Linked DNA regions of Homo sapiens: regions 1, 2, 3, 4, 5 and 6 are each linked to region 7. Evidence: promoter capture Hi-C in 16 types of primary human blood cells and fetal thymus (Javierre and others, 2016). All regions are on one chromosome and are shown on one strand. The core of a region is centred on a gene start or on the middle of the fragment in contact, and the rest is flanking DNA. Distances in the headings are between cores, read along the strand shown. Region 1 overlaps COG7 (component of oligomeric golgi complex 7). Region 2 overlaps UBFD1 (ubiquitin family domain containing 1). Region 3 overlaps USP31 (ubiquitin specific peptidase 31). Region 4 overlaps USP31 (ubiquitin specific peptidase 31). Region 5 has its middle 4.3 kb from the start of USP31. Region 6 overlaps USP31 (ubiquitin specific peptidase 31). Region 7 holds the start of METTL9 (methyltransferase 9, His-X-His N1(pi)-histidine).

Region 1 (4,047 bases), core at 1-2,500, 1.8 Mb before region 7:
TGTAAATGGTGATTCTTGCTTTGGGAAGGTGGTCACTCTCGTAAGGGCTTTAGAACAGCACGGTGTTTTGGGAGGCCAACCATCACTCAAGATTCTGCCCAGCACTCCAGCTATGCTCTTTTTTTTTTGAGACAGAGTGTCGCTCTGTAGCTGGAGTGCAGGCTGCAGTACAGTGGCGTGATCTCAGCTCATGGCAACCTCCACCTCCCAGGTTCAAGCGATTCTCGTGCCTCAGCCTTCTGAGTAGCTGGGATCACAGACGTGCAACACCATGCCCGGCTGATTTTTGTATTTTTAGTAGAGACAGGGTTTCACCATGTTGCCCAGGCTGGTCTGGAACTCCTGGTCTCAAGTGATCCTCCCATCTTGGCCTCCCAAAGTGCTGGGATTACAGGCGTGAGCCACTGTGCCTGGCTCCCCGAAACTATGCTTTTGCTTGGGTCTTTCAGCTGGTTCATCTCTTCAGCACTGCTGAATAAATTTAGCCAGATGATTGGTGTTTTGGGAGACAGAAGCTCCCTAAAGACAGAAGCAAGCCACCATACTTACATTTCAAGTCCCTGGTGGCAGATGGAGAAAAAGGACCTACCCCTTCATTTTTCACCCCTCACGCCTCTTTCAGGTGTTGGTAGAAATTGACCAAGTGAAGTCCAGAATGCAACTTGCTGCCGAATCTCTTCAGGAAGCAGATAAGTGGAGCACGTTGAGCGCCGATATTGAGGAGACATTTAAGACTCAGGTAGGTTTCTTGTTTAGGGGATGTTATGAAAGGTATTTAAGCAAGAACTTGAGGTTTGGAGAAAGCAAAAGAGATACAAAGTTGATAGCCAATAGCAGCATTCAGAAACCTTCAGACTCAGGGTGGGGAAGATCTGAAGCTGCTCGGTGTGTTTCCAGCCTCTTTAGCTTGCACCCTCTGTGTGACTGAAGCCTCTTAGTCACAGAATGAGTTCAAGAGAAGCCTTGATAAAGATGTACAGGCACCAGGCACTGTGGCTCATACCTGAAATCCCAGCTCTTTGGGATGCTGAGGTGGGAGGATCACTTGAGGCCAGGAGTTTGAGACCAGCCTGGGCAAAATAATGAGACCCCCGTCTCTACAAAAAAATTAAAAAATTAGCCAGGTGTGGTGCTGCACATTTGTAGTTCCAGCTACTCAGGAGGCTGAGGTGGGAGGATCTCTTGAGCCCAGGAGTTGAAGGCTACAGTAAACTATGATCATACCACTATGCTGAGGGACAGAGCAAGACCCTGTCTCAAAAAAAAAAAAAAAAAGAAGAAGAAAAGAAAAACCAGCACAGGCAGAGAAGGTTGGGGGTAAATGGACGAGAGGGTGGAACATGGGGAAAGGGGAGCCTTATATACCTTGGGGACTTGGTGGGTTATTGACCCCTTCTGAGGCTGCAAAGTGTGGAAAATAGTAACATTTTCCACCTGGGATGTAAGGATGAAGTAAGATGATGTCTTATGAAGAACTCTTACTCAATTGTAAAGCAAAATGAATGATTTATCAGTCAGTTTTTTTAAAAAGTTACAAATGCACATGGGAACAAATTTATTACACAGGAATAAACTGCAAAAAATAAGTTTTTTTCCTAACCCTGACCCCCACCTTAGTCCTCTAATTTTTCTTTTTTTTTTTTTCTTTTGAAACGGAGTCTCATTCTGAAGCCCAGGCTGGAGTACAGTGGCATGATACCTCCACTTCCTGGGTTCAAGTGATTATCCTGTCTCAGCCTCCCGAGTACCTGGGATTATAGGCGCGCACTACCATACCCGGCTAATTTTTGTATTTTTAGTAGAGATGGGATTTCACCATGTTGGCCAGGCTGGTCTTGAACTACTGACCTCAGGTGATCTGCCCTCCTCGGCCTCCCAAAGTGCAGGGATTACAGGCGTGAGTCACCATGCCCGGCCGGGGGCTAATTTTTCTTGTGCGGACAAGCCCTGTTATCAACTTTATGCCCATCCTTCCAGATATGCACATACATATTTATGTTCCCTGCCCCTTTTTTTCCTCACAAAGCTCATTGTGAACACTGCTTTTCACTTTATTTTTTCACTCAACAATCTATCTTTTATTTATTTATTTATTGAGACAGAGTCTTGCTCTGTTGCCCAGGCCGGAGTCCAGTGGCATGATCTCGGCTCACTGCAAACCTCTGCCTCCTGGGTTCAAGCGATTCTCCTGCCTCAGCCTCCCGAGTAGCTGGGATTACAGGTGGACGCCACCATGCCTGGCTAATTTTTGTATTTTTAGTAGAGATGGTTTCACCATGTTGGCCAGGCTGGTTGCAAACTCCTGACCTCAGGTGATCCTTCAGCCTTGGCCTCCCAAAGTGCTGGGATTACAGGGGCGTGAGCCACCCTTCCCGGCTGCCTGACCAATTTCTTAAAATGTTTTGTAAAGACAAGGTCTTGCTATATTGGTCAGGCTGGTCTTGAACTCCTGGCCTCATGCAATCCTCCTGCCTCAGCCTCTGAAAATGCTGAGATTTATAGGTATAAGCCATTGTGCCCAGCCTGGATGTGAATATTTTTAAAACTCTTAGCACATATTGCTAAATTGCCTTCCAGAAAGACAGTATAAATTTAAATTTATGATACCAGATTGTCTTTTTTCTTTGTACCCTCACCAACAATAGCTATTATAATTTTTCAAACACTTTTCCAATTTGTTAGGAGGAAAATGACACTTTATTGTTTTAATTTAATTTGCATTTATTTGAGTACAGGTTTTTTGTTTTTTTTTTGAGACGGGGTCTTTCTCTGTTGCCCAGGCTGGAGTGCAGTGGTGTGATCTTGGCTAACTGCAGTCTCCACCTTCCAGGCTCAAGTGATCCTCCTGCCTTAGCTTCCTGGGTAGCTGGGACTACAGGTGCGCATGACCACACTCAGCTAATTTTTACTGTTTGTAGAGACTGGATCTTGCCATGTTAACCAGGCTGGTCTTGAACTCCTGGCTTCAAGGGATCCTCCTGCCTCAATCTCCGAAAGTGCTGGGATTACAGGCATGAACCACCACGATGCCCAGCCCCATTTTCATACTTGATGAGTTGCCTTTTCATGTATTTTATCTATTCCCAATTGAGGCAGTAGGGATCATTTAAAATAAATATTCTCTATTCTGGTCTTTTCTAGGACATAGCTGTGATTTCTGCCAAGCTAACAGGTATGCAGAACAGCTTAATGATGCTTGTTGATACACCAGACTACTCAGAAAAGTGTGTGCACTTGGAGGCACTGAAGAACAGGCTGGAGGCCCTAGCCAGTCCACAGATTGTAGCGGCATTCACCTCTCAGGCTGTAGGTGAGTGCTAGCTGCTTCTCATCTCTGTGTATATCTCTCTATAAAGATAAGGCCTTGTAAGTCTTCAGTTTTTAGAATGTCTTAATGGTGATTGAATTACATAGATTAGAAGGAACTCTGTAATTTTTTTTTTTTTTTTTTTTGAGACGGAGTCTTTCTCTGTCACCGAGGCTGGAGTGTAGTGGCGCAATCTTGGCTTACTGCAACCTCCACCTCCTGGGTTCAAGTGATTCTCCTGCCTCAGCCTCCCGAGTAGCTGGGATTACAGGCGTGTGCCACCACACCCAGGTAATTTTTGTATTTTGAATAGAAACGGGCTTTCACCATGTTGGCCGGGCTGGTCTCAAACTCCTGACCTCAGGTGATCCCCTCGCCTCGGCCTCCCAAAGTGCTGGGATTAACAGACATGAGCCACCGCGCCCGGCCAGGAGTGTCTTTCTATTGCTTTTATGTGTAGAAAGCAATAACTGCTTTTGGAATTCTTGGGTCACACACTTTCTCCTTCAGAATTCTTCATTGTCTTCTGCCATCTATATTTATTTTTCTTTTCCCGCAGAATGTCTCACAAAACAGCCAAATATACTTCTGTAAAGGCAAAAGGTGAAATGCTACTTCTGTGAATTCTGTCTTCTAGTGCGAATGCATTTCCCTCTATATTCTGATAAGTATGAGATTGGCCTGCTGCTTCTTCCTATTATTTTTTTTTTGTATGTAGCTTGTTTCTTTTCCCTGAATAG
Region 2 (3,665 bases), core at 865-3,364, 2.0 Mb before region 7:
CTCACTTTTCCTCCAGATTTATTGTACATGCCGGACAGCGGTACCGTTGGCAGGCGCTCCTGAAGGCACGAGAGAATGGTAAGAGATGGAGGGACAGTCAGAAAAAAAGAGAAGGGGGCCAAGCGCGGTGGCTCACGCCTGTAATCCCAGCACACTGGGAGGCCAAAGCGGTCAGATCACCTGAGGTCAGGAGTTGGAGACTAGCCTGGGCAACATGGTAAAACCCCGTCTCTACTAAAAATACAAAAATTAGCCAGGTGTGGTGGCACACCCCAGCCTGGGTGACAGAGCAAGACTCTGTCTCAAAAAAAAAAAAACAGGGAAAAAAGAGAAGGGACAGGATTGGAGGAACCTCAAGTCAGACGGTGGGGCTGCCTCATTTTCAGAATGCTCACAAAGAAATCCGCCTTACCTGGGCCCCCTTAACAGATGGCATCACATCTTCAGGTTTTCCTTTATCCAACACTTTCCTGTGTTGCTATAAGTCAGAAGAGAGAATGAAATGAAACAGCTGACTACATTTCGTCGTGTTACTATTCCCTTGAAAGAGAGGATGAAGAAAGCCTTAGTGTTTTGGCTCAAAAGCTTTTAATGACGACAGACTATGGATCCTTTGAAACTATAGCACAGTGCTGTCCAGCAGAACTTTCTGGGAGGGCGAATATGTTCGTACCTGTGCTAGCCACTACCTACTGCTGTGACTATTACACACTTGAAATGCAGCTACTATGACTGAGGAACTGAATTCTTAATTTCATTTTAACCAGCCACATGTGGATAGCTACCATATTAGATATCAAAGTTCTACAGCAAACGGGATTTCCAGATTGCCCTCCTCCCCTCAAAAAAAAAAAAAAAAATCACCACTGAAATGATTAAACCATCAAACTAAAGAGGGCGACAAAGGGTGTTGCTCTCCTAGCAGACAAAAAATGGCACCCACCTTTTTCAACTTAAACTTCCAGAGAACACTATAAGATGCTGGTAATCCGTCTAACTGCCTAGGAGGAGCAGTTCTTCAACAAATGGAGACCCAGCCCATCGCCGAAGTTTTCCCCACTGCCCTACCCTTAACTCCAGCTAAACAGGAACCTGGAAGAGCCACCTTTCAGAAAGAAATGCTTATTACTCTATAACCTGACATTAAGAAGCCTCTAAACTCCACCCCTACCACCTGCCCCAAGAACTCTGAGGCAGCTCTTCAAGGATTCTAAGTTCAGGGCCCCTTAAACAGTTCTCCTGCCTGGCCCAAATGCCTGAGTCTTCTTTCTTCTCCATCTGTGGCCTTATAGGCATAGCCACTGCTTGGAAGGCTGGAACTAGGGGACAATGAATGGATAGAAGGTAACAATTTAATCAAATGTAAGCACTAGGCAGCCACAAGCCAGCCCAAATCCTCACTGGCATGGTGGAATCCCTCTGGGAGGAATAAACTCAGCACTGCCAGACTGCTAGCAAAAAGTCACTCCAGACATCACCCCCAGACCCCTTAATAAGCTGGTAAAAAGGCAAGGGACTATATCCCTCTCATTAGGTCATGTGATGCATCATAATTGGCCTCAATGAAACACAGCAGCATGGGCTGGAAGTACAATTCGAGTCACACCTTTCAAGTACCTTTTGAACAAGATTTCCTGTACTGTGGAGAACAGTTCTAAGCCTGTTAAGCTACCATTAGTAACTAAAAACCTGTATTTAGGAGGCATGTTATGCTCCAAGGGTGTGACCATTGCGACCACTCCTATCTGACGTGCTCACATTTCACTATTTCATACATGTGGCAAAGAAAAACAGGAATATGAGAAGAAACTCAATCGGTTTCAAGACACTGAGACCCCATATGTGGGGGTGAAGTCTCCAAATCAACACCTTTTAGATAATTAATATAGGTTTATAACCCCTTATCTGAAACCCTAGAGTTTTGAACTTTCAGGGTTTTGGAATTTTTATAAAGATAATATTGCTTTCAAATACATAACAATCTTCTCTGTGGGGTCTGGGGCAGTACCTTGTCACCAAAGAGGAAAATTCACACTAATTCTGGTCAGGTTTTGCTGTTAAATTTATAAAAACACTTCTCGTTTTTATACTCCTTTGGGGTTTTGGAAGCACACATGGGGGATTATGGATCTGTAACACAAACTGTGTCCTTTTCTTACTGTTGGTCATATATCTTAGTGTCTATGGTCACTAAATGATGTTGATTGAAGTTTATCTACTCTACTTCAGACACAGTTGAGAATACCTGTCTTCCTTGGAACACTAGGAAGAACGATCAGGAGGCTACACAGCAATCAGTATAATTTGCCAGGTAAAAAGATAACAAGTAATGATTCTTACAACCTGTTCCTTCCATAGTAAAATAATCTCACTTTTCCTCGTTACGTGAAAGAATGTTAATGGCTATGATGAGCACAAGACAAGGCAGGATCTCTTGCAGCCAAAAGAACAGAGAACGTAAAAAACCAAGCTCCTATTTCACAGATCAGGACAAAAAAATAAATAAACAAATCCATCAGTGTAGTTGTCTTCCTACTCAGCTTCATTTAGCTTCCTGAAACGGTCAGCTTTAGGGGAACCTCCGAGAGTTGTTGATTTCCATGCCTAGCCAGGCTTGTTGACTTGGGGAAAGCCACAAACCAAAAAGCCAAATGTAAGCACTTGTACAAAATGAGGGCTTACTTCTAGTACTGGTAGTTTTCTCTGGCACTAAATAAGAGAGAGAAACCCACGTCTGATTCCTTTCAACACATGGTCTGAAGCCTCCCTTTACCAAGGTCTTATCCTAAAGTAGGTAGACTTGAGACACACTGACCCGCCAGATGAGACAAAGTTGCAAATCTCAGGTAGTTGTCACCTCCACTCTGCGGCACCCAACTGCTGCCATAAATTTCCATCATGGGCCCTGTCCAAAAAGGAGCTTATTCTAGGGAGAATATAACCAGCCACGGCTCAAGAGGACAAAGCCTCAAATTTCTCAAGACCAAGAAGCACAAGATGGACTCACTTTCTGCCTGCAGAGAGGCTCCTTCTTGTTCTCTTCGGCCTTTGCATCCTGCTGCGCAGCATCTTTGGGTGTGTTTACTGCTAAAACATCATTGATGGTGGAGCCAACCACCATGATCTTGGCCCCACTGGTCACTTTTATTTCTCTCAATGTTTTATCCTCGGGGACGAGTCCCTTATACATGACTTTCTGCATGGCAGGCGGGAGACCTTGGGAAAAGGTAGAAGGTGGACAGTGAAAGGAAGGAAGGACAGAAAAATGTATGGATACTACACAGCTCTTTGGTAACAGACCAAAAAGTGAATACTGCCTCCACCACCTATTAGCTTTGTGAACTTGGGAGATTTACAACCTCTGAACCTCAGTTTCTAGAACTGTAGAAGATTTATTAGAGTAAGTCCTTCTGTACAGACCTGTTTCAAGGATTAAGAGACCAATGCGGGGCATTTAGTACGGTGGCTAGCATTGAATAATTGTTCAGTAAGTACTAGCTCTCATTCTTTCCAAGTTGTTCCTCAGTCATCTAAATCATTCACATATTAAGTGAGAATCCACAGGCATCAGAGCTACAGAAGCCAATAGGGACAAAACTCCTGTTCTTAATGGAGATTACAAGGCTACATGTAGAAAGCTTTAAAAAAAAAAAAAAGTTCAAGGC
Region 3 (3,728 bases), core at 643-3,142, 1.5 Mb before region 7:
TGTGTAGGAGAAGCAGAAAAAATAAGAATAAAAAGAATTGAGAGATACTGATATCAAACTCCCATTTGAAATACAAGGGCCCTTCTGATTCAAGGCCCAGTTGGGGAGCTTGGACCATGTTGTGAATGGCCTAGCACTCGCCAGTCTGGTGGAAATTGGTGGTCTTAGTTGCTGGAGCAGGCTGAGTGTCCCCGCGGGGTTTGCATCTGTCCCCAGAACCTTTTCCCCAGGCCCGTGGGGGAATAGGGAAGTCACTCTGAGCTAGAAATTGTCGAAGAAGAAAAGAAACAACCTTCCTAGCCTTGGAAAGCCTGTCCCTGCTTTTGATAGAATTATTGCCTTTTTGTAGGAATTACAGTAGCAAACCCCAGGCTGCCGCTGAATTTCCTACTTTTGCTCATTCTCTAGGATAGTTCTTATCCAGAATGTGGTTTCAGGAATTCTTTTTTTTAGTTTGAAAATGAATGTGAAACATTTTCTTTGGTGTCTTTTTTTTAAAAAAAAAAAACCCTTATTGCTATTTTTTCGTGTTTTTGTTTTGTTTTGTTTTTTGTTTGTTTTACCATTAAGTAATACACATCCCAGAATTTGGCACTCTGTGTTAACTGTGGAGGCAAATAAAATTTAGTTTTAATCTGTGGTGAGCTGAATGCACTACAACACCTTCGAAGTAATCTGATGGTTTCATTCTGTCGAGCCTCATGCTGCCTACAAAACACCACAATTTACCTGGTGTTTTCAACATTTTAAGGAATGAAGATACAAGTAGACATGCAAGTTGGAAATGTTTCTTTAGAAAGGCCATCCAGAATAATGATATCTGTTGCAGTCGTCCAAATGCAATATGAAATTTCCTAGGTGCTATTATAAACGGTGTGGTGTCATACCAAATGCAAAAGCAGTTACAGTATTTCCGAAGTTGGAGTTCTCTTTGTAGGCCTTTCAAATACGTGTTTGCATTCCATAGAGGTCTGCTCACCAACTGTGCCTCTCACCACTGGTTAAAATTGAATTTAAGCCTCATTGACATAAGTCGTTTCTTGATTGAACTCTTCAGTTTTTACACTGGAATTTCTGTAGTTGTCTTGAAAGCTGCATGTCACATCACTGTACACAAAGTGCTTTGGTATTACTCATGCACCGTGGATAGTGATTTCTGTGTCGTTTTCATTTTCAGTTGTACAGTAATATGGAAGGCAGGATGTCTTTCCTAGAGGCTGGAAGAAAAGTGTATCGTACATTTTAAATTTATTTTAGAACAAGTGCATGAGATGTGTCACTGATTTCTGTTATTTATTTGTATGTTTTATTATTCAAAGTGTATGCACTTTTAAGAAGCAGAATTTATATTTTTACGTTTGAAACGTTTTATTTCTGAAACAGCGTTGATTATATAGTATACAGTTGGAATTAAGAGAAAAGTGGAAAATGTAACAAAATACAATAAATTTATTACAAGATGTCCTCTTCAAGCCACATTTCTCCTTTCTCCCCCTTGCCAACTGATATCTTTTTGGTGTTGACTATAATAATAATTGTACTGCATCAGTCTTTACAAAATGCCTTAAAATTGCAGTGTTTAAAACACAAGTTACAGAAAGATGTATACATATGTTTTCTGTGTAAAAGTTTAAAACAAAAAATCACATCCATGCTTGTATAATTTTCACAATCAGGGATGGTTCTTCCCATTTCCTCCATGACGGATTAGAGACAGTTTGTCCTGGGCCATGGAACTGGACAAAAACTCACATTCTGGTTCAATCCAACAGATTTTCAACATTTCGCATTATTTTCCCCCTCTTACCAAACTTTTATGATGGGAAGAAATAGCAGTATAAAAGGGGCCATTCTTCCTGCGCTGTCTCATACCCTAGATATTTAATATTTTTGATACAAACAACATTTTTCCAGCTGTCTTTCCCACCCTTCAGGACAGAACTCCCTACTGAGGATGTCACATCACCTATGGCCACGTGGGGGCACTAAAGATCTCTTATGCATTTTAGAAGTCCAGCCTGCAGGTGGTTAGCCTCTGAGTGTGGAAATGTTTATTCAGTATGAGTTGGGGAATACGGTATCAGTGAACAGGGGTTTCTGTTTAGGGGAGTGCCACCAGCCATCATTTGTTCCCGGAAAGTGTTGAGTACAGATCAGGACAGATCTTGTTTCCCTAAAGCACAGCATTATGGTTTAGGGTTGGGGTGGGGGGAGTTGATGTTCCTGACAAGTGTGAACCACATGCCGTGCTAGGTACAGCACTTCTGAAGCTCTCTAATTTGAAATGGTAAGATTTCGCTTAGGTTCTGTTAGAGAGTTTAACCATGTAGTACGCTGATTATTCAAGAGGCTTCATTATGCCACAAAGTGTTCACATGTCATAAAATATGTAGATTTAATAGTTATGCAGATATTTAAGGATCATTTTGCCTGTCTCCTTAGGATTTGGAAGATTATCTTTCAATACTTGAATGGTCAACGTCTCTCTGAATACTTTTCGGGTCCCTGTAAATCTTCCTGAAGAAAGCAAAGGTGTGATAACACCCCTTGCCCAGAGCTGCATGTTCCTGTGTGTTAAACTGCCCCGTGGGTGATTCTAGGCCACTCTGACTCCGTGGGATGTAGCTTGAGGTCCTCCCCCACCCCAGTATCCCCTTTCTCCCAGCTGGGTTCTGTGTCATATGTTCTAATTCTGTGTACATCATCTAACATAACGTTGAACGGTTAATCACTTCGATTTACTAATACATTCACTTTCCATTGCTCTTCACTCCTTCCTGGGTTCTCCCAGATGGATGCTTCAGGTTTCCTCTCTGCGACCCTGTTCCTTTCTCAGGCTTCTCCACGAGGGTCATCTGGTAGATTTCACCTTGCTGGGTGGGTTGGGTCTACCTTCTGCAAACCCCTCTGGAATTCGGTCTTGGTTTGGTCTGGTCTTAGCTACGTTTTTCACCCTCTGCCAACACCTGCTATACACAGAGGACAGGGCTGTCCTCTCCCTTGGTGGTGCATTTTTGCATGCCATATAACCCAATGGCCTTGCACTCGTTTCTTAGAGCTTTCAGGGATTTGATATCAGTTTGACTTGCTCTTTGGATGTCTTAACAGCTCCATTTTTCTTGTGAAACGTGAGAAGATGGTGCAAATGAGACTGCAGTGCCTAGTTGGAATCAGGCCTCCCTGCCCCCGGTGGGGTCTCAGGGATCTTGCATTCCAGCACACCACCCCTGTGCCTTCCCTTTGTTTAGGAGGACTCCAGAGAGGCCCACAGTGCACAGATCCAGTTCCAGAGACACAGGGAAAAGGGTGTAATACGTCTTTCCTCTCCGAGAGTCTGGAGTGGACAGTGTGTGGGGATTGTGCACTGGGGACTGAGGATGAATGGCACCAGCCTCAGGGTTCCAAGTCCACAAAAGTTGTGGTGAGGAAGGTGCCCCTTTACTGTTTCACTCAGAATCGGAGTCCAGGTTCCTTCATTTAGTAATGTCTTCTGTGTGCCCAGCTGCTGGGGTTATGACCACACTTGGAGGGGCTCACCTGCCAGTCAGGAGGTCAGGTTGGCCAACAGATAACGTTTCAGCAAGTTTGCCACTTATTCCCTGCTCTTTCTCAAGGCATCGTCCCTAGAATGCTCTTCTCCGAGATGCCAGCCTGGCTCATTCCCTCATCTCCTCCACATCTTTACTCACATATCACCTTATTGAGGCCTTCCCTTACTACCTTTTTAG
Region 4 (3,941 bases), core at 1,085-3,584, 1.5 Mb before region 7:
CAAATAAGTTTCCAAAATTTCAATGGATTGATACATCTGTTGTCGCTCACAACCTCTCTCTCTCATTTATTTTATTTTTCCTCTGGCAGTTTATTTGTTGAATGCGTGTTTGTCTAGTAGAGCAGAGCTCTTCAAATTATTTGTGGTTTAGGACTAATTTTTAAAATTTCCAATCTATTGTGGGCTGTTTGTAAAATACAATACAAATGAATTAATAGAAAAGTGACATAAAAAAGGCATATGTAAGACCAGCCCCATTAAAAAATTGTTAAATTCAGAAGACATAAAGTTATGGTTTAATTTGTAAATACTTCTAAATGCTTACTCTCAATTTCTATAATCTCATCATGGACTGGCAACGGAAACTTCATAGTCTTGATTTTTTGTATTATATTCCAGTAGCTTCAATTAAGATGTTCCTCTGTCCATGTATTTCCTGTAAAATGGTAGTTAGAGCTAGAGGTTTAGAGACTCAAGTTTGAGGTTTTTTTCTCCTCTTTTTGGCAAAACTTTCTGTCGTGGTGTTATAAACTTCCATCAGAAAGCCTGCACTGTTTGGTTTTATCTCTTGTGGTGCCAAGAATCACTGGTAGTTGTTCCCTGACCCGTTAATTTATTAAGGGTTGAAAGTGGTGAAATTATAATTCTAACATTCCTTTTTTACTTGTTAGCTGGAACACTTCTACAGAGACTCTTGTCCAGTTATTTGGTTTCCCTGAAGTAAATTTTTCAGAAGAAAGGCTAGATAAAAGCTTGATTTTTCCCCCTCCTTTATTTTTCAGTTTTCAAAATAATTACTTGATTTCCAGTTGTGTTTAGTGAATTTTTATAACCTTATGAGCTCATGGGTTTAAGCATATTTGATGTATTCAGTCAGTTATAGTTTTTAACCTTATTGATGCTCAAAATTGTCCCATTTTTGTCCAGTGGGACAAGTCGACTCTCAAGTCGTTTTGAGACTGTACTAGTAGCCTGGCATGTCAAACGAGAATGCAAGGATCTTAAGATGTTCCAGGCTCATCATTTCTTGCACCAGATCTGGAATTAGTCATTTCCAGATACTGGAATCAGGTTCCTTTGGTACAGCGGTACTGAGAGACCACAGTTGAGGCATGAGGGATGCACATGGTTTCTAAGAAAGGAGTGATTTCTTTTAAAGCTAAATCATGAATTCACATTGATTATTCCAATACAGGGCTTCGGGGTTTTATTGACCCTCATTGGTCTTGTATCTGTGGCTTGTTCCTCCCATGCTGAAAATCCTACTTGTAACACCAGCGTAAATTCTCATTTGCCTTATCCCACAGTATGCTCCTAAGTCTCAGAATAATAATCCCAGTACTGCCACCAACAATGTTAGTATTTGAAAATGGCTTAAGACTTATTTGGTAGTTTTTTTGTCCATAGCATATATTCTACTAGGACCGTATGGTACAAATTACTGTGTTTTAAAGTTACTTGGAATAGTTCTCTATGTGGTTTTGTCATCACTGGATATATAGTTAATATTAGTTGTTTCGGCCAGGCGCGTTGGCTCACGCCTGTAATCCCAGCACTTTGGGAGGCCGAGGCGGGTGGATCACGAGGTCAGGAGTTCAAGACCAGCCTGGCCAAGATGGTGAAACCCCGTCTCTACAAAAAAAAAAAAAAAAAACTACAAAAATTAGCCAGGCGCAGTGGTAGGTAGGTGCCTGTAATCCCAGCTACTTGGGAGGCTGAGGCAGGAGAATCACTTGAACCCAGGCGGCAGAGGTTGCAGTGAGCTGAGATCGTGCCACTACACTCCAGCCTGGACGACAGAGTGAGACTCCATCTCAAAAAAAAATCAGTTGTTTCTTTTTTAATCTTTTTTAAAATGAGGTTTTCTTTTTTTTCTTTGAGATAGAATATTGCTCTGTCGCCCAGGGTGGAGTTCAGTGATGCGATCATAGCTCACTGCAAGCCTACCTCCCAGGCTCAAGTGATCCTCAGTCCCTGGAGTAGCTGGGACCACAGGTGCTCACCACCATGCCCAGCTAGTTTTTTATTTTTTGTAGAGATACTGTTTCACTATGTTGCCCAGGCTGGTCTCGAACTCCTGGGCTCAAGCAATCATCCTGCCTTGGCCTCCCAAGGTGCTGGGATTACAGGAGTGAGCCACCACACTAGTCAATTTGTTTCTTTTTTTGCTTTTGATTTTGATAGATTGGTTCCTATCCTAAATTTGATTTTGTTGCATCATAATTATATTAAAAAATACAATATATGGCTGAAGTCAAATCTGCAAAACAAGATCTATTCAGAAATCTAGCTCTGTCTCTGATCCTTCCACTCTATTGCCTTTCTCCCTAAATTTTATGATTTATTCTTTCATTGTTTAAATATAAGGCAGTATGTATAGGTATATATTAATATATGTGTGTATTCATATATGGGTGTGTATTCATGTTCTCTCTTATTTAGATAAATGGTAGCACACTATGGATAATTTTCTCCTCTTGCTTTTCTTCGTGTCGCTAACGTATGAGTGCTTATCACATGCCCTGCACAGTGGATTATTTTATTTGCTCCTTATAATGTTGTAAGGTAGATGCATGTGTTACAATTTCTGTTTTATAGTTGGAGACAGAGGTATTTCTGTGTAGACCTTTACTTCTCTGAGTCCCTTTTTTATTTCTTTTTTTTTTTTTTGAGACAGAGTCTTGCTCTGTTGCCCAGGCTGGAGTGCGGTGGTGTGATCTTGGTTCACTGCAAGCCCCACCTCCCGGGTTCACACCATTCTCCTGCCTCAGCCTCCCAAGTAGCTGGGATTATAGGCGCCCGCCACCATGCCCAGCTAATTTTTTTTTTTTTTTTAAGTAGAGACGAGGTTTCACCATGTTAGCCAGGATGGTCTCCATCTCCTGACCTTGTGATCCACCCGCCTCAGCCTCCCAAAGTGCTGGGATTACAGGCGTGAGCCACTACGCCCAGCCTTTTTTTTTTTTTTTTTTTTTTAAAGAGACAGGGTCGCTCTGTACCCAGGTTAGAGTTCAGTGGTGCGATCACAGCTTACTGCAGCCTCAAACTTGGGCTCAAGCAATCCTCCCACCTCAGCCTCTGTGGTAGCTGGGACAACAGGTGCCTGCCACCACTCTCAGCTAATTAAAACTTTTTTTTTTTCTTGTAGAGACAGATTCTTGGTATATTGCCTAGGCTGGTCTTGAATTCCTGGCCTCAAGTGATCCTCACGTCTCGGCCTCCCAAAGTGCTGAGATTATAGGCATGAGGCACTGTGTATGGCTGCTATGATTCCCTTTAACCCCCATAGTAACTAGTCGTGACCCTTGTGTGCATATTCATGAGCAAATGAATGAGCAGGGAATTAACTTCTCTATTTACTTTACTTTGAGCAATGATGGGAGCAGAGAAAGGCTGTTTCCAAACTCTAGAGAAGGAAATTCAACGCTTTCTTTATTTGAAGGTTATGGCTCTCTGTAGCTGGAGAAGAATAATAGTAAGAACTTATTCCCTGACCAGAGTTGCTCCCAGTAATTACACAGATACATTAAGTTGGAAAGTTCTTTAATCTTCTAAAAATAAGAGTTCCTTTATAACAGTACAGTGACAACTTGGTAAATCTTCCTCATTTTAGAGTCTTTGTGTCATGAAAGTTATAATAAACTAGGGTAGCTAAGGAAAAGGACAAACTCCTTTAAAAGCAACAGCTCGTGGAAAATATCTACTAGTTAATGATTTCACAATTTTAATAGTGACAGGAAGAAAGGAGAGTAGCTTCATTTCCCTTCAGATGGGAAAGAAAGGAGTATTGGCTGCTTTTTATTTTATATCCAGCTGGAGGAAGGGGTTAGTTACCCTTCAGGCTCTATTGTGATGTCAGGCAGCTGGTTAAGCTGTTGTAGCTGCCCCCACCCCTTCCCGGATTCTGTCAAGCTTCAGAGGGTATTGCTGAGGGAGGTGGA
Region 5 (3,448 bases), core at 577-3,076, 1.6 Mb before region 7:
CTGAAGCTTTTCTAGCAGTTATGTGAGCTGTTGATATCCTTCTAAAGATCTCCTTTTCTGCTTAAGTTAGCAAAAGTCATTTATGTTGTCTGCAACTAAGAACTTACGATGGGTATACAGGTCAAAGGAGAAAAATGCAAAGGCTCATCTCTGTTGATGCCCAGAAGGCATTTGATAAAATTCAAGACCAATTCCTGATAATAACCCTTCCTGAAGTAGGAATACATGGATACCACTTTAACGCAATAAATAATATATATCTCAAACCAAAAGCAAGCATGCTTAATGGTAAAGCACTGGATGAAATGCTATTAAAGGCAGAAACAATGCAGGCTTTCCTACTCTCCTTACTATTACAGACAAAATTCTGGAAGGGCAATTAGACAAGAGAAAAAAAAAGATGAGGTACAACTATTATAAACAAAGTGGCGAGGTTTTTATCTCATGTGTTGATATAAATTCCTGAGAAACCCAATAGGATCAACTGAAAATTATGAGAAAGAACTAAAGTACATCAAGGTGGCTGGTTACAAAAATATTTTTTTTCCTGTAGACAAACAACAGAAAATATAATGACATAAAATATCCCATTCATAATAGCAACCAATAGGAATAAACTTATTAGTATTATGCAAGACCTATGGGAGGAAACTATAGTACTGGGAGGGGCATTAAAAGCCCTTGTATAATTTTTTGAAGACAGACTTTATTCTCAGATGAGAAGATAAATATTGTGGTGATGCCAGTTTTCCCTCACTTAATCTATATAAATTAACCCCCCTAAAGGATTAAATTCATTTGAGAGAATAAGCAAACAGACAGATAATAAAATACTAGGAGATAATGCTCTATCAAACATTTCAGCATATTCTAAACCTATGCTATCCTGGAATACAGAGGCTTATCAATGGGATAGAACAGAATTTTTAAAAATCTTAAATATACGGGGCATTTAATAGGTGATAAAAGCAGCATTTTAAAGTAGTGGGAAAATTACATTTAAAAATGGTGCTGAGACAATTGGCTAGCCATGAAGCATGCAGAAAAGGCAAGATCCCTATCTCATTTCTCATGCAAAAATAAATTCCAGATGGAGAGCATAATAATAAGAAAAAAACCCAGAACTGCACTAAATTAAAATACAGATGAATATTCTTATGATCTTGGAGTGGGGGAAGGCTAAGTATGTCAAAAATATTGTAAATCTTTATGAAAAAGACTAATCTGTTTCACTATATAAAATAATTTAGGCTGGGCTTAGTGGCTTACACCTGTAATCCTAGCACTTTGGGAGGCTGAGGCGGGTGGATGGCTTGGGTGGGTGGATGGCTTGACCCTAGGAGTTTGCGACCAGCCTAGATAACGTGATGAAACCCTGTCTCTGCTAAAAATACAAAAAGTTAGCTGGGCGTGGTGGCATGCACCTGTAATCCCAGCTACTGAGGAGGCTGAGGTGGGAGGATCGCTTGAGCCCGGGAAGTCAAGGCTGCAGTGAGCCATGATCACACCACTGCACTCCAGTCTGGATGATGGAGTGAGACCCTGTCTCAAAAATAATAATAAAATAAAAATAATAATTTAAGTTCTGTATATGATATGAAAACACTGTAAACATGGTTGAAAGGGAAGTAGGGAATGGTATAGACTGAAAAATAATATAATTTATATAGAAAATAATTTTATGGACCAGGTGTAGTGGCTCATGCCTGTAATCCCAGCACTTTGGGAGGCCAAGGCAGACGGATCATTTGAGGTCATGAGCTCAAGACCAGCCTGGCCAACATGGTGAAACCCTGTCTCTATTAAAAATACAAAAATTTGGCTGGGCGCAGTGTCTCACGACTGTAATCCAGCACTTTGGGAGGCCGAGGCGGGCGGATCACGAGGTTAAGAGATCGAGACTATCCTGGCCAACATGGTGAAACCCCGTCTCTACTAAAAATACAAAAATTAGCTGGGTGTGGTGGTGCGTGCCTGTAGTCCCAGCTACTTGGGAGGCTGAGGCAGGAGAGTCGCTTGAACCCGGGAGGCAGAGGTTGCAGTGAGCTGAGATCGTGCCACTGCACTCCAGCCTGGCGACAGAGCAAGACTCTGTCTCAAAATAATAATAATAATAATAATAATAGTACAAAATCAGCTGGGCGTGGTGGTACATGCCTGTAATCCCAGCTACTTGGGAGGCTGAGGCACGACAATGGCCTGAACCCAAGAGGCAGAGGTTGCAGTGAGCTGAGATCATGTCACTGCACTCTAGCCTGGGCGATGGAGTGAGACTCCATCTCAAAAACAAAACAAACAAACAAAAAACTTCTACGAGATAATATCTATAAAGGAATACACCGAAAAGAATAATGGGCAAATGGTGTGTGCAGGTGAATCACACCAGTAAAAATAAAATCGCTAATTAAAAGGTATTCCTAGTTGTTTTCTTGATTGCAAACAGCAGAAACTGACACTGGTTTGTTTCCCCAATAAAGGATTTACAGGAAACCTATCAGGTTAGCTCACAGAAAGAACAGAGCCAGAGAAACAGGCTTGGGCAGAAACCCAGGGACACAGACACCAGTAAGAACTTGCCACTAGAGTAGCAGCTGGACACTTGCTGCTACCACCCCCACACTGTACACCACCGTACTGCCACACTGCTAAATATATAGCTGCTAGATTCATTAATTCACTGCATTATCTCCAACGAACCGTGTATCAATACTTCTAGAGCCAAAGTCTAGGTAGGAACATATAGTTGGTCTTGCTCTGTCACCCAGGCTGGAGGGCAGTGGCACGATCATAGCTCATTGCAGCCTCCACCTCCTAGGCTCAAGTAATCCTTCCGCCTCAGCCTCCTGAGTAGCTGGGACTACAGAAGTGCACCACCACACCAGGCTTATTTATTTATTTTTTTAGAGACGGGATCTCGTGATGTTGCCCAGCCTGGTCTCAAACTCTTCCCGTCTCTGTCTGCCTGTGCTGAGATTACAGGCATGAGCCACTGCACCCGGCGGTGGTCTTTTTTAGGTCATGTTCCTGGGCTCTAGCTTCCAGGGGTAGGAAGGGGAATACCTGCTCCCTGCCACCCTACCCAGTTTTCATAGTGGGATCTTGAGTGGTCCTGCCTAATTTGGTATCCCTTGCAGACAGGAAGTTGGTTGAGATGTTGGATAGCAGAGAGACTGGCACATGATGTTCAACCTTACTCATACAAACAAAAAGTGCATTAATATGCCATCTTTTGTTCATCAAACTTGTCAATGTGAAAAAGACTGGAAAACTCAACAGTATGTTGGGATTGGGAAATGTGCATTTCCCATTAGTTGCTGACAGGATAAAACCTTTCTGGGGGTCAGCTTGACAATAGGTGTCATATATGGAATACGCATACCCTTTGATCCAAGGTTTCAGCCTAAGGAGATAGCTACATGATGGACAAGGTATAGGTCATGATAATATT
Region 6 (4,011 bases), core at 69-2,568, 1.5 Mb before region 7:
TTTCCCATTTTAAATTGCATTATCTTTTTGTTGAGTTGTTTTTGTTGAGTTGTAAGAATTCTTTGTAAGGATGTATAATACTAGACCCTTATGGGATATATGACTTGCAAGTATTTTATTCCATTCTCTGGGTTTTTTCTCTTTCTTGATAGTGTTCTTTGACGTACAAAAGTTCTTCATTTTGATGAAGTCTGTTTTTTCTTTTGTTGCTCATAATTTTGTCGTCATATCTAAGAATCCGTCACCACATCCAAGGTCATAAAGATTTACTCTTGTGTTTTCTTCTGAGTTTTGTAGTTTTAGCTCTTACATTTAGGTTGTTGATACATTTTAAGTTAACCTTTATAAATTGTATGAGGTAGGGACCAAACTCCATTCTGGGACAAGTAAATATTTACTTGTCCCAGCACCATTTGATGAAGAGATTGTACTGTCCTCATTGAATGGTCTTGGTGCTCTTGTTGAAAGTCCTTATTTTAATTCCTCTTTTACTTTACCCTCTACTTCCAGAGGCCTCTGGCACCTCCAGTTTCTGATTCTTTCGGTGATCCTGTATATTGGGTTGGCCAGCTTTCTCCAATGCCAGCTTACAATTCAGTTTTCTCTGGTCTACTCATATTTACAATATTTTCTAGATAGTCTATTATTTCACTTATTCTTCTTTGACCCAGGTGCTTGTTTGTGTTTCTTTTCCAGTTGTTACGTTTCCCTGTATGTGTTTTTGTTTGGATTGTTTCTAGTTTTATTGCATTACAGTAAAAAATACCTAAATTATCTTGTCCAGAGAGCCTTTCCTCACTCCCTTTACCTGCAGGCTGGCTGGCGAACTCCTGCTCTTCTGGGCAGTTAACTTCTGTTAATCTCTCACACCAGCGTGTTATGTGGAAATGATTTGTTTTCTTCTCTGTCCTTCCCACCACACTGTGAAGTTCTCTGGAGCTGGGGCCACATTTTGCTTTATCTTGTTATACCCAGCAGTGCAATATAGTTCTTAATATGCAGCAAGAGCCCAGGTAATGTTTGTTCAACTGAAAGTTTCTCAAAATCCTGTTCCCACCCCAGTTGCTTAGGGTTAACACTAAGCTTCTATTTATAAGTGAATTTGGTGAATCCAAAGGTTATTGTATTCTAGCCAGAGACTGCCTTATTGAGTCTGCGTTAGCCTCTATCCTAAGGCCTTAACAGATGTTTTATTCAATATATAATGAGGCTACTGCTTTCCCCACATTACTGGTGAGGAAGCTGAGACTTGGAGATGAAGTAACCACTCCCAGCTCACACAGCTGGCAGTAAATGGGTCCACAGTTTGAACACAGAGCTTGATTTCTGTGCAGTTGACAATGTGGCATCCCCTTATCTCGTCAGGAGTCCACATCTATTCTAGGAGAACAGATCTTCCCACCCTTACCTCTGCCAAGAACCTGGGAAACGAGTTTATTGTCTCAACTTCAGATATCTATTATTTTTATTTTCTCATACCAGAGTTTAAAATGGTTAGGAAGTAAGATCTACTCCTGTTCCTTTTGTGATTTCTTTATGGTGTTTAAGCTTAAAAAGTTTTCTTCCCTCTAGTGGCTTGACAAAGATTCAGCTTTTTTCTTATTTCTAGTTTGTATGTGTTGTTTTTTTAAACTCTATCTGGAATTTATATTGGCATTAACTATGTACTTTGTCATTTTAAATTGTTATAATGTTGAGGTATCTTAATAGGTTCAGTGAGTCTTAGATTGCTGAGTATTGAGGTTATTGCCAGCATTCTGCTATAAATACTTTTGTGTAGGCCATTTGTATTTTATTCTCTTTCTGGTGGTATTATTATTAATGGTGGTGGCAGGAGGGGTTTCTTCTATTTTCCAGCTGGGATGTCATTTCCCTAGGCTGTGCTTCCAAAGGATTAAAGGAATGAACAGGTAGTCAGGCATTTATTGGGGTTGTGCTGGGTGCTGAGTTGCTGGGTACTTTGATTGACAGGGAGCTCTGCTTTGGGGCATTTGGGAGGATCAGTACTGTGCCTGTCAAATATATATTTTTGTTAACTTTAATGTGGATTGATCCAGTCTAGTAGACTGTATTCCAAGTTGGAAGATTCTCCTGATGGCTCTGAGTCTAGTAGGTGTAGTGTGTAATTTACCTTTTATTTCTTATAAGTCTGGCTCTTTAATCAGGGAGAAGAAACTGCTATTGAATATTGAAGAACATTCCACATCTTTATTTTTTAAAAATTTGTTTGATTACTGGTTGCATGACCTCACTAAATTTTCTTGGTGAATCATCTCAGCACACATGCCCTTCTAAAACTGTATCTAACCTTCACTGAAGTGCAGTTTTAATTTTCAGTTTTTAAGATAGGTAAGGCTAGTTTAAAGGAAATAATAATGGATGCTAAAGAAATTCTCTAACGGCTAGATGAGTAATCTAAGTAGGATGTTTCTTTTTTTGATTGCAGTTTAATTTACATAATGACATTTTTAAAAAAAATTTTCTCTGTTGGGTAAATTTCTTCATAACGAGTGAATAAAAATAATTTTGAAGAGATAAAATGAGTTGTTTTTATTCTGTTTCAGGAATTCATTTAAACAACAACCTAAACCACTTGAAATTTGGCTTGGATTATCATAGACTGTCTTCTCCTACACAAACAGCAGCAAAGCAGGGGAAAATGGATTCTCCCACATCAAGAGCAGGCAGCGACAAGATTGTCCTGTTGGTGTGTAACCGAGCCTGCACTGGGCAACAAGGGAAAAGGTGAGAACCAGATTATTTTCCAGTAAGTACCTAGACTGTAACAGTTCAGTATTTTCAAACATGTTAAAAAGCATGGGCAAAAAGTTCTTACTTTTAGTAGTTAATTTTTGATTCTGATATTTAGAAAGAATACATGTACAAGTTGACCTGATTTGGGGGGTTGGTCGGGGGAGAGTAAAATTAGGAATCTGGGGTTTTTTGTTGTTGTTGTTGTTGTTTGTTTGTTTGTTTGTTTTTTGATATGGAGTCTCGCTGTGTTGCCCAGGCTGGAGTGTAGTTGCGCGATCTCGGTTCACTGCAACCTCTGCCTCCCAGGTTCAAGCGATTCTCTTGGCTCAGCCTTCCGAGTAGCTGGGATTATAGGCGCCAGCCACCACACCCAGCGGATTTTTTATATTTTTAGTAGAAATGAGGTTTCACCATGTTGGTCAGGCAGGTCTCAAACTCCTGACCTCAGACGATCCGCCCGCCTTGGCCTCCCAAAGTGCTGGGATTATAGGCGTGAGCCACTGCATCTGGCCAGGAGTCTAGTTTTAAAAGTCCCATTTCATATGTGTATTTTCAGTTCAGGCTCCTCTTGGGGCTCTAGACCCATTTCCAGCTACTTTCCTGACAGCTTTTTTATTTTTATTTTTTTAATTGTTAACATGTCTACTTGGATGGTGCATGTCCCTCAGTCTTCTGTCCCAAATTGAACTTATGTCTTATGTCCCAAGTTGAATTGAAGTATGTCCAAATTTTCTTTCCTTTTAAAACTGGCTCTCCAGTATTTCCCATCTTGGCAAATGGCACCACACATTCATTCAGGTTTCTAAGTCAGAAATTTGGGAGTCAGAAATCTCTCTCAAATTTGTCTAATGCCCTCTGTAAGAGTGTATGGGTGTTTTAGACTATCTTTTAAAGTAACTCTGTCACAGTAGGAATGTAACCTGAGTATTAACAAGAGACAGATATGTTTCAAGGAGAAAGGACTCAGTGTTTCTTAACATTTGTTAGAATAGCCTTTATGTTAGCCTTTGAAAATTTTGCTTTGAAATAAGTTCCCTGCATAGTAAATAACATAAATGTAAAATGTGTTGATATGCATATTTATGCTATTCATTGACAGGTATTTTAGTGTTTACAGTGTGTTGGGCATGGTTCTAAACACTGGGGATTCAGCAGGGAACAAGACAGGCAAGGTCTGTGTCCTCATGGAGCTTCCATCCTAGCTAGGACAGACCGACTATGAACAAGCAGACGTCTTTAACTTCAGACAGTCCGTAC
Region 7 (3,564 bases), core at 310-2,809:
CAATGGCTGGAGGCTTTCAAAAAAATTTACAGAAATTTAGGATTCCTTTAACAATAGAAAAAAGCCCAATATACATATTACTAAAGACTAAATGCTACTTTTCTAAATTGCTCTATCTCCTTCTTAGACAATTCTCTACCCTCATTAAAACACATGAAATCAACCTGGGTGTAAATTCTCTGAACACCTGGCATAATAAAAAAGTAATGTAGGAAAATGAGAAATATATGAAAATGATGAGACACAAGATGATATAGGGAATAATTAATACTCTATGGAAAAGCAAAATGTATTATAAATGCTAGCTATGACAAGCCAACACTCTGGCAGAGTTCAAAAGCCTCTTTTCAATGAATTTAACATTAACTGCAAACTATGTTAAGGTCATATACGAAATATCTCACTTAATTCTACAGTTAACCTGTACACGTTTAAGTGGCGCAAGACTGAGCTAATGAAAAGCCTACCTACCCGGTCACAGCGTAACGCTCACGATGCATAACTAAAACTCCCTCCCGTCCCGTTCTGTTTTAAAAACCCTTCCTGTAAAACTTGCATAATCTTCCTCCTCATCACACACAATCTTTCTAGCAGGCTGACTAAATCCAAGTTTAAAGGAGATCTCTGCTAGGTAGGAGGGGAAGGTTCCGTAGGATGGGAGCGACAACCTGTCAAACCCATTTTTTAAGTGCTTAGGGAGAAATGTCACCCCAATCAGCCTGGAGAGTTCAATGGCTTGCGATGTACAGTTACATTTCTTCACGACCCTTTGTACGTTCTGGGATTCAACGAGACAACAAGAGGGGCTGGCTTTTCGTTTTGTTTCTCGGGGTAATGGATCTGGCCGGGTCTCTTCAGTCTCAGGCCTCGGTGCCAGGCGGGCGCCCCCAGCCACGCTCTGGCCCCAAAGTTCCCCAGTCCCGCTGCCGGGCGTCCGCAGTCACCGCCCGGGACCCAGGAACAATGCGGGGCTCCGGGCCGCTCACGATCGGGCCCGGGAGGCCATGCCCCGCCTGCGCTGCGGAACAAAAGGCGCTCGCGGGGCCGCGGCCGGGTGCCCGGGGCTCGCGGAGTCGACGCCCGGCGGGGAAGGCGCGGGGAAAACTTTCCAAGGGGCCGAGGCGGAGGGGCGAGGGCCGGGCCGCCCCCTCGCGGAGCCGTCCCGCACAATAGCCGGGCCCAGCGCGGGAAGGCCGGGCCGCCACGCCCCCGCCCCGGCCCCGGCCCCAGCCCGTACCTGGTGGTTCTCCTTCCTGCCGCCCGCGGCCGCCGCCGGCCCACCCGGGCCGCTAGTCATGTTCACGTACAGGGAGCGGGTGAGCGGGCTCCGCAGCGTCCACATCCTCCGCGCCAGCCACACGGACGCCAGGCTCAGGCACAGCCAGCCCGCCAGCAGTCTCATCGGGGGCCGCGGCCGCTCGCTCGGATCACCGCCGGCGCCGGGGCGAGGAGGAGGAGGCACCGCCGCCTCCGGCCACCGCCGCCACCGCCCGAGCTCGAGCCATCGCGGCCGCCTTGCCCATCCAGCCCCCTTCAGGGCAAAGGCTGGGGGTGGGGAGGAGCAGCCGGCGCGCAGCCTCGGCACCTCCCCCTTCCCTTCCGGCCGCGGAACGCCGCTGCCCCCTGCACCAGTTTCCATCCGGAGCACTTACGAGCGGCCGCGTCGCTTTCTCCCCCGGCGCCCTCCCTCCGTCCAATGAGCGGGCCGCTGGGAGGCGGGACAAAGGGAGCGCGCATCCGCCCGGAGCGCGTTCTCGTGTCCCGGCCCTGCCTTGGCCTCTAGTAAATGGCGGAGGTGGTTTTAATTTTTTTGAGGGCTGAGGAGATCACTTCCGAAGGCGGTAACTGCAGCCTCCCTGCCCCTCCAAGGTGGTGCTGGAAGGACCTCCAGTCTTTCCTCGCCTCATCCCACTCCACGGCGGGACTTTGACAGGGTTACCTCTCGACCCTCATCCCACTCCACGGCGGGACTTTGACAGGGTCGTGCAGTTAACCCCGGGGGCGCAAAGAGGGGAGTCATTCCTTTCGTGCATCCTGACACACACAGGTTCTTCCCGGAGACGAATGGTGCCAGTGATGGTTGCCCGCTCGGATGCGTAGTTTCCAGTTTACATTTAGAACCGACCTGCCAGACTCCCTCCTCTACTCTCCCCACCACCACGACCCGCCTGCCCCGTTCCCCAAGCCTGAGAAGTTGCTGGCTACGTGTTTCTATAAAGAATGAGTGAAAATTCTGCCTTTTGGGGAAGCTACCGCAGCTGGGGTACCCACAAGTAATGTTTTAGATGTATTGATGGCCCTGCCCAAGAATGAAGACCTCAAGTTAGACTCCTTGGCTGCCTTGTTTCCTTGAATTAGCACAGGGAAGTTGGACCCAACACTCTTAAGAGTGAACTCAGCTCTGGGAGCAGTGTTTAACCCGGATATTTATTTGATCATTTATAACACGAGGAGACCTAGCAACATTTCAGAACTGAAGGGTTAGTTACACTGTGTTCCTGTCTGCAGTTCTTCCTGCTATTATCCAAGCCACAATTAAGGAGTAACATTTCGTGGGAGTCCCTAACTTTAATACTTTCCTAGGTTTGTTTGGAAAGTGCTTTTAATTTAACTGCACCAGAAATAATGTAAATGTGTCTAAGTTCAAAACAAAAGAAGTAAGCCTTTTGGTTAATTCAGCGTTGCACATCAGAGATTTTCATTTATGAAACAGTGGGGTGGTGAGCCACAGATGGGGAACAAAATCATTCCTTACCCAACAGCTTTTTTTTTTTTTTTTTTTTGAAACGGAGTGGAGTCTCGCTCTGTCTCCAGGCTGGAGTGCAGTGGCTCGATCTCGGCTCACTTCAAACTCCGCCTCCCGGGTTCAAGCAATTCTTCTGCCTCAGCCTCCCGAGCAGCTGGGACTACGGGTGCGCGCCACCATGCCCAGCTAATTTTTGTGTTTTTCGTAGAGACGGGATTTCACCATGTTGGCCAGGATGGTCTCCATCTCTTGACCTCGTGATCCGCCTGCCTCGGCCTCCCAAAGTGCTGGGATTACAGGCGTGAGCCACCGCACCTGGCCCAACAGCTCTTTCATTAGCTTTTAAGAATCTCAGCTTGGCACCTTTGGCTAACAAGGATATCTTGTTGCCTAATGTAACAGGCTGTAACAACAAACAAAAAGGCACAGGGTGGGTGGGGTTCGGTATTTTGTGTTCTCTCTTTCCAATATACTCCCTGACTGCTTCCTGCCAAAACCCCGAAAAGCCCAAGCCTTACTAAATCTAGTTCAAACCTCTAGTGGTCCTGGCCCAAGTCATCAAAAAGGAACTATGGTAGCAAGTCCAATAACTGTTTATTTACTATGACACCTCTCCTTCCTGTCTCTTAGGATCAGTGTAACAGACAAAGCAACTCTGTCACAAAAGGAAGCCTTCATCTTTTTAAAGTGGGGGTGAAAGCAGCAGGAGTGCATAAAATGGCATATTTCCTTTCTGAAGACAAAGGAGACAAAAAGGTATGCCCCAGCTATAGAGTGAGACCACATAGCTGTAGCTGAGAGACTGCAAAATGTTATCA

The links. Contacts are between HindIII fragments. The CHiCAGO score rates a contact against its expected background, and 5 or more counts as called.
Region 1: a fragment that was not itself captured here is called in contact with the fragment with the promoter of METTL9 in region 7 in 2 of 17 cell types (neutrophils and erythroblasts); the score reaches 5.2 in neutrophils.
Region 2: a contact is called between a fragment that was not itself captured here and the fragment with the promoter of METTL9 in region 7, in 1 of 17 cell types (neutrophils). The highest score is 5.3, in neutrophils.
Region 3: a contact is called between a fragment that was not itself captured here and the fragment with the promoter of METTL9 in region 7, in 4 of 17 cell types (naive B cells, naive CD4 T cells, total CD4 T cells and 1 more). The highest score is 11.6, in naive B cells.
Region 4: a contact is called between a fragment that was not itself captured here and the fragment with the promoter of METTL9 in region 7, in 1 of 17 cell types (total CD4 T cells). The highest score is 5.9, in total CD4 T cells.
Region 5: a contact is called between a fragment that was not itself captured here and the fragment with the promoter of METTL9 in region 7, in 2 of 17 cell types (fetal thymus and non-activated CD4 T cells). The highest score is 5.8, in fetal thymus.
Region 6: a contact is called between a fragment that was not itself captured here and the fragment with the promoter of METTL9 in region 7, in 2 of 17 cell types (total CD4 T cells and naive B cells). The highest score is 6.2, in total CD4 T cells.

Annotation. Positions count from the first base shown.
Region 1 is chr16:23,441,740-23,445,786 of GRCh38, reverse strand. It overlaps COG7 (component of oligomeric golgi complex 7), which reads left to right. Exons shown (of 17, transcript NM_153603.4): 3 at 623-739; 4 at 3,142-3,310. Among named protein-coding and RNA genes, the nearest start is that of COG7, 9.4 kb to the left of the region's middle. The HindIII fragment of the contact is 7,262 bases long and covers 1-4,047 here.
Region 2 is chr16:23,559,019-23,562,683 of GRCh38, reverse strand. UBFD1 (ubiquitin family domain containing 1) reads right to left here. Exons shown (of 7, transcript NM_019116.3): 3 at 3,008-3,216; 4 at 413-478; 5 at 1-59. Among named protein-coding and RNA genes, the nearest start is that of UBFD1, 3.1 kb to the right of the region's middle. The HindIII fragment of the contact is 3,053 bases long and covers 588-3,640 here.
Region 3 is chr16:23,059,150-23,062,877 of GRCh38, reverse strand. It overlaps USP31 (ubiquitin specific peptidase 31), which reads left to right. Exons shown (of 16, transcript NM_020718.4): 16 at 1-1,472. Among named protein-coding and RNA genes, the nearest start is that of USP31, 88 kb to the left of the region's middle. The HindIII fragment of the contact is 4,022 bases long and covers 1-3,728 here.
Region 4 is chr16:23,125,356-23,129,296 of GRCh38, reverse strand. The region is part of intron 1 of USP31 (ubiquitin specific peptidase 31); the gene reads left to right. Among named protein-coding and RNA genes, the nearest start is that of USP31, 22 kb to the left of the region's middle. The HindIII fragment of the contact is 3,160 bases long and covers 755-3,914 here.
Region 5 is chr16:23,152,055-23,155,502 of GRCh38, reverse strand. No RefSeq gene overlaps it. Among named protein-coding and RNA genes, the nearest start is that of USP31, 4.3 kb to the right of the region's middle. The HindIII fragment of the contact is 3,636 bases long and covers 9-3,448 here.
Region 6 is chr16:23,089,358-23,093,368 of GRCh38, reverse strand. It overlaps USP31 (ubiquitin specific peptidase 31), which reads left to right. Exons shown (of 16, transcript NM_020718.4): 7 at 2,565-2,745. Among named protein-coding and RNA genes, the nearest start is that of USP31, 58 kb to the left of the region's middle. The HindIII fragment of the contact is 465 bases long and covers 1,086-1,550 here.
Region 7 is chr16:21,597,572-21,601,135 of GRCh38, reverse strand. METTL9 (methyltransferase 9, His-X-His N1(pi)-histidine) reads right to left here and starts at 1,559. Exons shown (of 5, transcript NM_016025.5): 1 at 1,238-1,559. The coding sequence starts at 1,402. LOC101927814 (a long non-coding RNA gene) reads left to right here and starts at 1,751. Exons shown (of 3, transcript NR_110930.1): 1 at 1,751-2,480; 2 at 3,377-3,502. RefSeq lists an enhancer at 280-844 and a silencer at 953-1,572. The HindIII fragment of the contact is 7,148 bases long and covers 1-3,564 here.